2 separate regions of the Homo sapiens genome follow, and region 2 is linked to region 1. Evidence: promoter capture Hi-C in human tissues and cell types (Jung and others, 2019). All regions are on one chromosome and are shown on one strand. Each heading gives the region's core, a stretch centred on a gene start or on the middle of the fragment in contact. The rest is flanking DNA. Distances are from core to core; before and after follow the strand shown. Region 1 holds the start of MCTP1 (multiple C2 and transmembrane domain containing 1). Region 2 overlaps MCTP1 (multiple C2 and transmembrane domain containing 1).

Region 1 (4,744 bases), core at 266-2,765:
TACCCACTTTAGGTCTAACTTTTCATTGACTACTCAGAAAGCTTCTGGTGACAGGTATCATTTCTACCAAAAGTAAAGTCCGGGTGCAAGTCAGAACTCTTTCATCTTTGCTAAACCAGAGCGAGATGTTTTCTTTCGACTGTTTCATCTACTTAGAATTAATAGCATTTCTCCTCCCGCCTCCCGGCCCCCGCCCCCCGCTCCCCGGGTGGTGAACGCCTGAAGAGGGAGGCGTGGTCCCGCGCACCTTGTCTCCGGCCGCGCCACCGGCACTCACCTGGCTGCTGCCGTGCTCCTCGCCCGTCTCCGGGGCCCGAGACTCCGCGGGACTCCGCGCCGGCTCTGCGGGAGGAGGCGGCGGCTCCAGCAGCTGCTCCAGGCAGGCGGTGCCCGGCAGAGAGGAGCTCTTCTGGTGGCACAAGTGCGCCCCGGGGCCCTGACGCCGTGCACCCTCATCTCGGGCGCGGTCCCCCCTCGGGGGAGGCTGGGGCGAGGAGGACAGGGAGGATGAGGCGGAGGAAGAGGAAGGAGCTGAGTCGGGGGAGCGTCCGCCAGGAGGCGTCCCTCCCGCTGCTCCCGAGGCCGCCGCGGGCCCCTTTACGGCGGGGAGCAAATGCTCGCGGATCCGGCGGCGTAGCGTGGACCCCTGCTCGGCTCTGCCGGCGCCGCCGGGCTCCAGGGGCTCCGGCGACGAGCAGCACAGGTTGGGCTGCGAGGAGGAGAAGACTCGGTCCAGCACTTGCTTCCGCTTCTTGAAGCCGCTCCACCTGCTGCCTGCACCACTCCCCCTGGCCGGTGCATTCCCTGTGCCCACCGGGGGTGGCGGGGAGGGCGACGGGGTGTCCGCAGTGCGGCGCTCTGGACCCCCAGCGCGCCCGCCCCCGCCGCCCTTGCTCCTGCCCACCCCCAGCTGCAGGTTCTTCCAGAGCCGGGCCTGGAAGGAGGAGGACGCCGCCGGCGGCTCTGGCTCGCCCGCCGCGGCAGCCCGGGGCTCCATCCTCCACCCCCTGCTCCTCCTCTCCCCTCCTCCTCCTCCTCCTCCTCCTGCTTCTCCTCCCTCTTCGGCTGCACCTCCTCCCGGGTCCCCGCGGCGCTGGCGGTGGCGGCGGCGGCGGCGGCGGGCGCAGCAGCAGAAACCGGGAGTGCCCAGCGACTTCAGGCCAGCTCGGGGGAAAGAAGCGGCCGCCGCCGCCGAGGCTCTCTGGCCTCGGGACTCCGGCGCTGCCTCTTCCTCCCGCACCTGCTGGGGTGGGCTGGAGCCGTAACCGAATCCCGGCCGCGGCGCCTGCAAAGTTTTTCCCTCGAAGCTCCGCGGCTCCAGTCCACTGGCGTCCCCCAGGCCGCGCCCTGGCTCCCTCTTCTCTCTGACCGAGCTCGGGAAGCTGCACGCACCGGGGCGTGCGCGTCCAGCTGCGCCAGGGACCGCACCCGGCGCCCTCTGGGCAGCACCTGTCAGCGGCGGGGGCGGCTGCCTCCAAATTGGGCGCGCACGCGGCTCACACAACAAGGCGCGTCTGGCTGGAGACTCCGGGGACCAGCAGTCCCCCTGGGGCGCCCCGGGACCATCCTCCAGCTCCTAGGTGGGAGGGCCGGTAGGAGCCGGGTGGAGCTAGGTAGGGCCCGAAGCCAGCTTGCTCCCTAGGATCCGGCCACAGTTGCCCAGGCAGCTCGCTGTGCGCTGGCCGCTGGCCGCGCTGGCGATCGTCTGGGTCGGATGAAGCGAGCTGGAGTGGAAACTATGTGCCCTCGATGGGTCTCGTGGGGGCGCCGATCGTCCACACTGAGCGATGAACCCGACGGAGTTCTAAAGCTGAAGACGTCTGCCCCCGCCCCGTTGCGCTCCCTGGGTCCAAGACGAGAGTTTAATTTCTTCTGTCTTGACTTCATCCCCATCCACCCCTCCCTTTTCTTTATTTGCCTCTGCACTGGTCTCTTATGATCAGGTTCTAGCATTTCCGGAGTCTGACGATAAAGCCAGCCCTTAAGTTGCAGGGAGTTTACGGTGGACGAAGATGGGTGATGCGCACTGCCTTTGATCCGATTCGGCACGCACAGAATCTTGTTCTTTTCATTCAAGCGCATTTTTTCTTTGGTTACTTCATTTGCTTGTTGCAAGGCAAACGGAAAAGGCTTTTTAGCTCATTCAGACTTTGCTTCTCCCAAAGCTGCTCAGCCAGGGTCTTCTGATTCTGCTAGGAGAGACTTCTGAAAGGCCAGCAACACAATGCCTCTTTCGTCCTCCTAAATGGGGAAAACGGGAGAGTTCCCTAAGCTGCGGTAGCACACTGATCAGTCTTGTCTAGCTAGCAGTATGCTTTGGAGGTGTTACCAACCTAAGTTTTTTGTTTTGTTTTGTTTTTGTTACCTTTATAACAAATATTTATTAAGCACCTACTATATACCAGGCACTGTGATAGGCTCTGGGGATGCAGCTGTGAACAGGGCATCAGGGTCCCACCCACATGGAGCTTATTGTGAGGGTGAGGGTTGGGAGGTGATGCGAGACAATAAACAGAATTTCTAATATGCAAAAGTCCCATGGAAACAGTTAAGCAGGGTACCACATAACAGAGTGGCTACAGAGGAAGAGCTTCCAGACAAAATGCAGGACACCCAATTAAACTGACTTTCAGAGAAACAATGAATAATATTAGTATATGTATGTCCCAAATATTGCATGGGACATACTTATACTAAAATACTATTATTTATCTGAAATTTAAATTTAACTGGGTGTCATGTTTTTGTTTGCTAAATCTGGCAGCCCCATATGGAGAGGTTTTTGGTTTTTTACATTATGTGTACAGGGAGAGTCTCTCTGAGAAGATAAAATTTTGAGTTAAGACTTAATGAGGACAGAGAACCAGCTATTGACGGATCTGACTGTAGAATTTCAGGTAGAAGGAACAGCAGATACAGAGGTCCTGAGGCAGGAAGCAGCTTGACTGGGCATATTCAAGGACAGAACGATACCACTCCAAATAGAGTAGAGCAAGGTGGGTGGGGTTGGTAAGAGATGTAGTGAAACAAAAGGTCAGCTAAGGGAGTGGGTCCTATAGCCAGAGTGAGAGTCCATGTTTCCTCTAAATGAAATTGGGAGACATTAGAGGTCTTTTTTAATCGTGAGGGTAATGTGATGTGATTTACTAATACTAATGCCAGGTATTAATAAATAGCCTCACAGGGCTATTTTGAAGATTAAGTGGAAAAAGGACTTAGCTCAGTGCCTGTATATAGTTGATATTATTGTTATTTGGTAGACCCAGTATTTCCCAAGTATATGAATACTATGCTTTGGAAAAAGAGCAACGTGAATGGAGAAACACTGGGCTGCATTTAAATAATATTATTGAAATGACAAGATTATAGAGATGGATAGTGGTTGCCAGGGGTTAGCGGTGGGGCAAATGTAAAGGATCAGAATAAAGAAGTTTATTTGTTATGATGAGACAAATTTAGATTGTGGTGGTGGTTACATGAATGTGTGTTATACACAGGATAGGACTGCATAGAACTACATACATATATGAATGCACATAAAAACGTGACATCTGAATAAGATAAGTTGTACCAATGGCAATTTCCTGGGTCTTAATATTGAACTATAGTTATGTATGATAATATCATTGGGGGAAATTGGGTGAAGGTCACACAGGAGCTCTATGTAGTATGTTTGCAACTTCCTGTGAGTCCATAATTATTTTAAAATTTAAAGTATAAATAAAAGCAAACAATAATAAAGCATGTTTTTTTGAAAAAATTGTGTGCTGCTGAAAGTTTTCCTTTGGAACCTTAATAATTAGAGAATGAAACAGTCTTAGAGCTACGATGGCCTACCCTTTCTTTGTAGCTCTGTTCTGGCCAACCCCACCTAATTCCTGAGGAAGCCTCTGAGAAGCAAATGAGGGAAAAGTCAGGACTGGTGAGGCAGAGTCCACATTAGGGCAAGCTCACAACTGCAAAGGTAAACACAGAGGCTGTGAAGCACTCTCCACACAGAATAAGAAAAGCCAACCACATTTGCCTTTATGGAGGTACCTCCCCACCGGGTGAAAGCAGAAGGGTTGGCATTTTTCACTGGCTTTTCCTTCCTCTTCACTCCAGTTTCCTTTCTCTGTATTTTATTTCTGTGTTAGTCCTTACTTTTCAAAGTTTCAGGTAAACCTTTTAAAGTTTCAGTTAAAACTCTTCAGCTAAATTATAAATATCATAGCTAAGTCTAACTGTGTAAGCTGGTGGTGGCTTAAGTGTTAACTCTCTCTGGAGTATTTATGAGCTTTATATATGGGAGCTTTATAAAACTGAAAATCTCCATCAAAATAAGTAGAAACCTTCATTAAGGACTTGGCCATTCAAGGTAGTGTTAGTCTTACAAAGCGAGCTACACACCAACTTCAGAGGCTTTCGCTCCAAACCTGCATCAATCCCTTATTAAATCAATATGGAGATCATTTTCAAAAGCCCAAGGCAAACTGTCTTTTCTACACCAATCAAGCTGAAAGCACCAAGACCACAAAAAACTACCTGAATATAAAGCTGCTCTGAAAGCACAAAAAGAAACTGGACTACCCAGAAATCTTATTCTCTAGAGAGAACAAGAGGAAAAATATTTTGTTTCTAGTTTGTTATAATTGTAGACTGGAGATAATGCTACACAATTCAACCTTAAATTCATTTAGTCTTCAATGCATTTAATTGACTTTTTAATATTATTTTTCTCTTCTACCTGTCTTAAAATACTCTG
Region 2 (4,597 bases), core at 1,954-4,453, 110 kb before region 1:
TTCTCTGTAAAGGATTATATTTCTCCTTCACTTATGAAGCTTAGTGTGGCTGGATATGAGATTCTGGGTTGAAAATTCTTTTCTTTAAGAATGTTGAATATTGGCCCCCACTCTCTTCTGGCTTGTAGAGTTTCTGCCGAGAGATCCGCTGTTAGTCTGATGGGCTTCCCTTTGTGGATAACCCCACCTTTCTCTCGGGCTGCCCTTAACATTTTTTCCTTCATTTCAACTTTGGTGAATCTGACAATTATGTGTCTTGGAGTTGCCCTTCTCAAGGAGTATCTTTGTGGTGTTTTCTGTATTTCCTGAATTTGAATGTTGGCCTGCCTTGCTAGGTTGGGGAAGTTCTCCTGGATAATATCCTGCAGAGTGTTTTCCAACTTGGTTCCATTCTCTGTGTCACTTTCAGGTACACCAATCAGACGTAGATTTGGTCTTTTCGCATAGTCCCATATTTCTTGGAGGCTTTGTTCATTTCTTTTTACTCGTTTTTCTCTAAACTTCTCTTCTCGCTTCATTTCATTATTTGATCTTCCATCGCTGGTACCCTTTCTTCCAGTTGATCGAATCGGTTACTGAAGCTTGTGCATTCGTTGCGTAGTTCTCATGCCATGGTTTTCAGCTCCATCAGGTCATTTAAGGACTTCTCTACACTGGTTAATCTAGTTAGCCATTCATCTCATCTTTTTTCAAGGTTTTTAGCTTCTTTGCGATGGGTTTCAACTTACTCCTTTAGCTCGGAGGAGTTTAATCGTCTGAAGCCTTCTTCTCTCAACTCGTCAAAGTCATTCTCCATCCAGCTTGTTCCATTGCTGGAGAGGAGCTGCGTTCCTTTAAAGGGGGAGAGGTGCTTTGATTTTTAGAAATTTCAGCTTTTCTGCTCTGTTTTTTCCCCATCTTTGTAGTTTTATCTACCTTTGATCTTTGATGATGGTGAGGTACAGATGGGGTTTTGGTGTGGATGTCCTTTCTGTTTGTTAGTTTTCCTTCTAACAGTCAGGACCCTCAGCTGCAGGTCTGTTGGAGTTTGCTGGAGGTCCACTCCAGACCGTTTGCCTACGTATCAGCAGTGGAGGCTGCAGAACAGCGCATATTGCTGAACAGCAAATGTTGCTGCCTGATCATTCCTCTGCAAGCTTTGTCTCAGAGGGGTACCTGGCCGTGTGAGGTGTCAGTCTGCCCCTACTGGGGGATGCCTCCCAGTTAGGCTACTTGTGGGTCAGGGACCCACTTGAGGAGGCAGTCTGTCCGTTCTCAGATCTCAAACTCTGTGCTGGGAGAACCACTACTCTCTTCAAAGCTGTCAGACAGGGACATTAATTCGTATTACTTCTAAGACTCCTTTCTGTAATTTCTGTGCTAAAAATTCCACTGTGCTTAACCATTAGAGTGCTAAAAAGCCCTCCCAGGACTTCTTCACAGGCATAGATGAATTATTACTTTCTTCATATCAAACTATTTTTTTTTTGGTGCCTGTATGATGTCTAGCACTACATGAGGCACTGCAGAGCTCTACCAAGATGTGAATTTTGCCTTTTATCAGTGGTGTCTGGTTCATAATATATGCACAATACATATTTGTTGAATAAATTAAGGATCTGAGTGAGAGAACTATGGTATCTCTTGTTCTGTTGTGTGCCATTTCCTTACTTTAAAGCCAATTACCCCATTGCTTATGGTAGGGGCAGTGTTACCATAGGTCAAATCTCCAAGAGCTTAGGAATGCAAAGGGCTCTGAGAGAACACAATAAACACCCTAGAGCTTAACAATAAGTATATGCATTCATTGAATAGGAACATAGTCCCTCTTCATTTACACATGGTAATTTTCACAGATTATAGACCATATTAATTTCAGCCTTTTTTTTAGGAAAAGAAGTTGTTCTGATGTTTTTTTGTATAGTCTGTTGAACTGAAAACTATCATGTATTTACTTGGAATTATTTAGAACAAATAAAGATTATTTTCTTGTATGGAGATCGAAGACTCACAATGTTACTTTACCAAAAGAGTAGTTACTAAAACATCTACTTTGAAAATACACATTATTGACTGACTCTTAGAGCCCATGAGGCTACAAGCAATTTCAATCTATTAGAACTCAGTGATTTCCTAGGCAGCAGGAGAATAACTGACTAGAGTTACTACTTGATTCCTCTATTCAAATTGCAAGAACTAAATTATATTGGGAATGCATATGGCAAGTGGAAGGAATAAATAATATTTAGTCACTACAAGTAAAATATAATCATAACCAGAAAAAAAATTTATGAGAGAATGAAACAAAGACAGAAAATTTGCATCCTAGGACTACAAGGAGAGACTCCTAATAACTCACCTCAAGTATAGCCATCATCTAGCTCCTCAGTGTTTATAAAGTAAAGGTTAAACTGCTTACCTTGGTAGGCAAGGCATGCTACATTCTGATCCTAACAATTACATCCAGTCTCAATTCTACTTTCTCCTCCCTTTACCTCCTGGCCACATAATTGACATTTAGAGCAATTTACCAGAGTATATATTCACACATGTAGGCAGAAAATTTAATCAGTATTTTAGTGCTTAACTCTTAAGTATGAGCACAGAGACAAGAATCATCAGACATTTAGGGAAAGCCACCAACATAAAAGAGACCCAAATAAACAACCACAAAGCAATCTGGAGTTAATAGAGGCTATGAAGGGAATGGAGAATACTTAAAAAAAAAAAAGCAACAATTAATTTTCTCAGAGAGAGATAAGAAACAAATCAGAGAACAAGAAAGAGTAATTGGAAATTAAAAATGAAAGAACTGAAATTAAAAATAAATCAGTTAAAGAAATGGAAGAAAAAGCCAAGGAAATATTTCAGAAAATAATATAAAGTAGTTGAAAGGATGGACTACAGGAAAAACAAGCTAATTAAAGGGTCAATCAAGAAGGCCCAATATCAAATTGGCTCCATGAGGGCAATGTTTTGTTCACTGCTATTACCTCTAGCACAGAATTACAATGCCTTGCTAGGGGAGGGGCATGATAACTATTTGTTGAATGAATAAATGCATGCTCCAAAGAGAAATCAGAGGGATAATGATGGGATCAAAAGAGGACGAAAATAAACCTTCCCCAAAATGAAGACCATGTATCATATAAAATGGCCCATCAACTGTCCAGCACATTTTTTTCAAAACCCGTATTAATTATTAATGCTCATTATCATAAAATTTCAAAATCAGAGATAATGAAAAGATACTAAACCCAAGAACCAAAAACTAGCCATATGCAAAGAATGAGAAATCAAAATGGCTTAGATTTCTCAAAAAAATATTACAAGTTAAAAGTTATAAGAACAAGCCTTCAAATTCTAAAAGAAATTATTTCTTAGCCCAGAATTATTAATCAAATGGTGAGGTAGAATAGAGACATTTTTGCATGTGAAAAATAACAGAAAATGTCTGTCTCATTCTTGTTTGAATCTGTTCCCCTACTTACTAGGTGTGTGACCTTTGGCAAACTACTTCAGCTCCCTTGCCTCACAGCGTAATTCACATGTAAAATGGGGACTCCCCTCAGACCTCCTTCATAAGGTTGCTGTATGGATTCTGTGAGTTATTTCATGAGTAGTCCTGAGAACAGAGCCTGGCATAAAGTAAGTACTCAATAAACTGTTAATTACTATTTTTAATTATTCTAAAATAAAACGAAAGTCTCCACAAAGCAATAGGATATTTATGAAGTTCATGTGTACATCTTATTTGGTTACTAGAAAGCCATTTGTATTTTTCTTCTTACATAATGTTAGCCATACTTTTTGTATTCTCTTTTTTTTCCATTTGTCTCCCTGTCTTTCTTACTTCAACATTTATTATATTGGCACAACTGCTAAGTTTTTTGGTATGTGATGAGAGAATGACATAAAATCTATGCTTAAGTAAATTGAGGGAAAAAGGGAAAAATGCAAGAAAAAAACTTGTTCTCCAGACACAGTGGGAAAAAAATAGAATTAAACTTATATTGCACTTTTAAATCAATTTTTTGAGTTAAAAATTATAAGTGAAAATGATGCTCTGAGATTAGAACCAATTCATTAATCAATGTTGAATACAAGCACTTGGCTATGTCTCCAGCTCCTAATGCCTTTCTGAGCTGACACGCTTCATTATTGTCAGATGAGTTTTCAATTGAGAGGGATAGCTTTGAACACTCAACTGCCCTTTAGCAGGCAAACACGCAGGAAATGGCACAAGAAGCTTGAAACCAAACTCGTGTTCCTGGACTCAGTTTGGTTTTCACTCAGTGTGGCTGACTGGCACCTGTTTCAACAAACATTGGTACCCTTTCCCTCTATTCCTTCATGAAGCTATCTTCTCAGCTGAGGAACAATTAGAAAAACATTTGGGGCACATGGAAGGAATTAAAAGAATATCCAAAGTAAATTCTCCTCCTACCACACAATAAACCCTGACTCCCATAACAGAAAAATCCACTTGCAAATCAAATTCTAAAGCATTCTAAAGGATGGCTTTGGTGAAGACTGCTTGAAATAGCTTATGGGTAGGTCCAGATTTTCAGCACAACTGGATTTTAAGTGTAAGGAGAAATGCCTTTCTGCAGTCCTG

What was found. Contacts are between HindIII fragments. The study calls those that stand out against the background at their distance.
Region 2: a contact is called between a fragment that was not itself captured here and the fragment with the promoter of MCTP1 in region 1, in 3 of the 25 tissues and cell types used here (bladder, small bowel and thymus).

The regions. Positions count from the first base shown.
Region 1 is chr5:95,283,579-95,288,322 of GRCh38, forward strand. MCTP1 (multiple C2 and transmembrane domain containing 1) reads right to left here and starts at 1,516. Exons shown (of 23, transcript NM_024717.7): 1 at 278-1,516. The coding sequence starts at 997. RefSeq lists silencers at 605-724, 805-864. The HindIII fragment of the contact is 12,418 bases long and covers 1-4,744 here.
Region 2 is chr5:95,171,133-95,175,729 of GRCh38, forward strand. The region is part of intron 1 of MCTP1 (multiple C2 and transmembrane domain containing 1); the gene reads right to left. It overlaps LOC105379085 (a long non-coding RNA gene), which reads left to right. Exons shown (of 8, transcript XR_948575.3): 4 at 3,474-3,627. Among named protein-coding and RNA genes, the nearest start is that of MCTP1, 110 kb to the right of the region's middle. The HindIII fragment of the contact is 5,787 bases long and covers 311-4,597 here.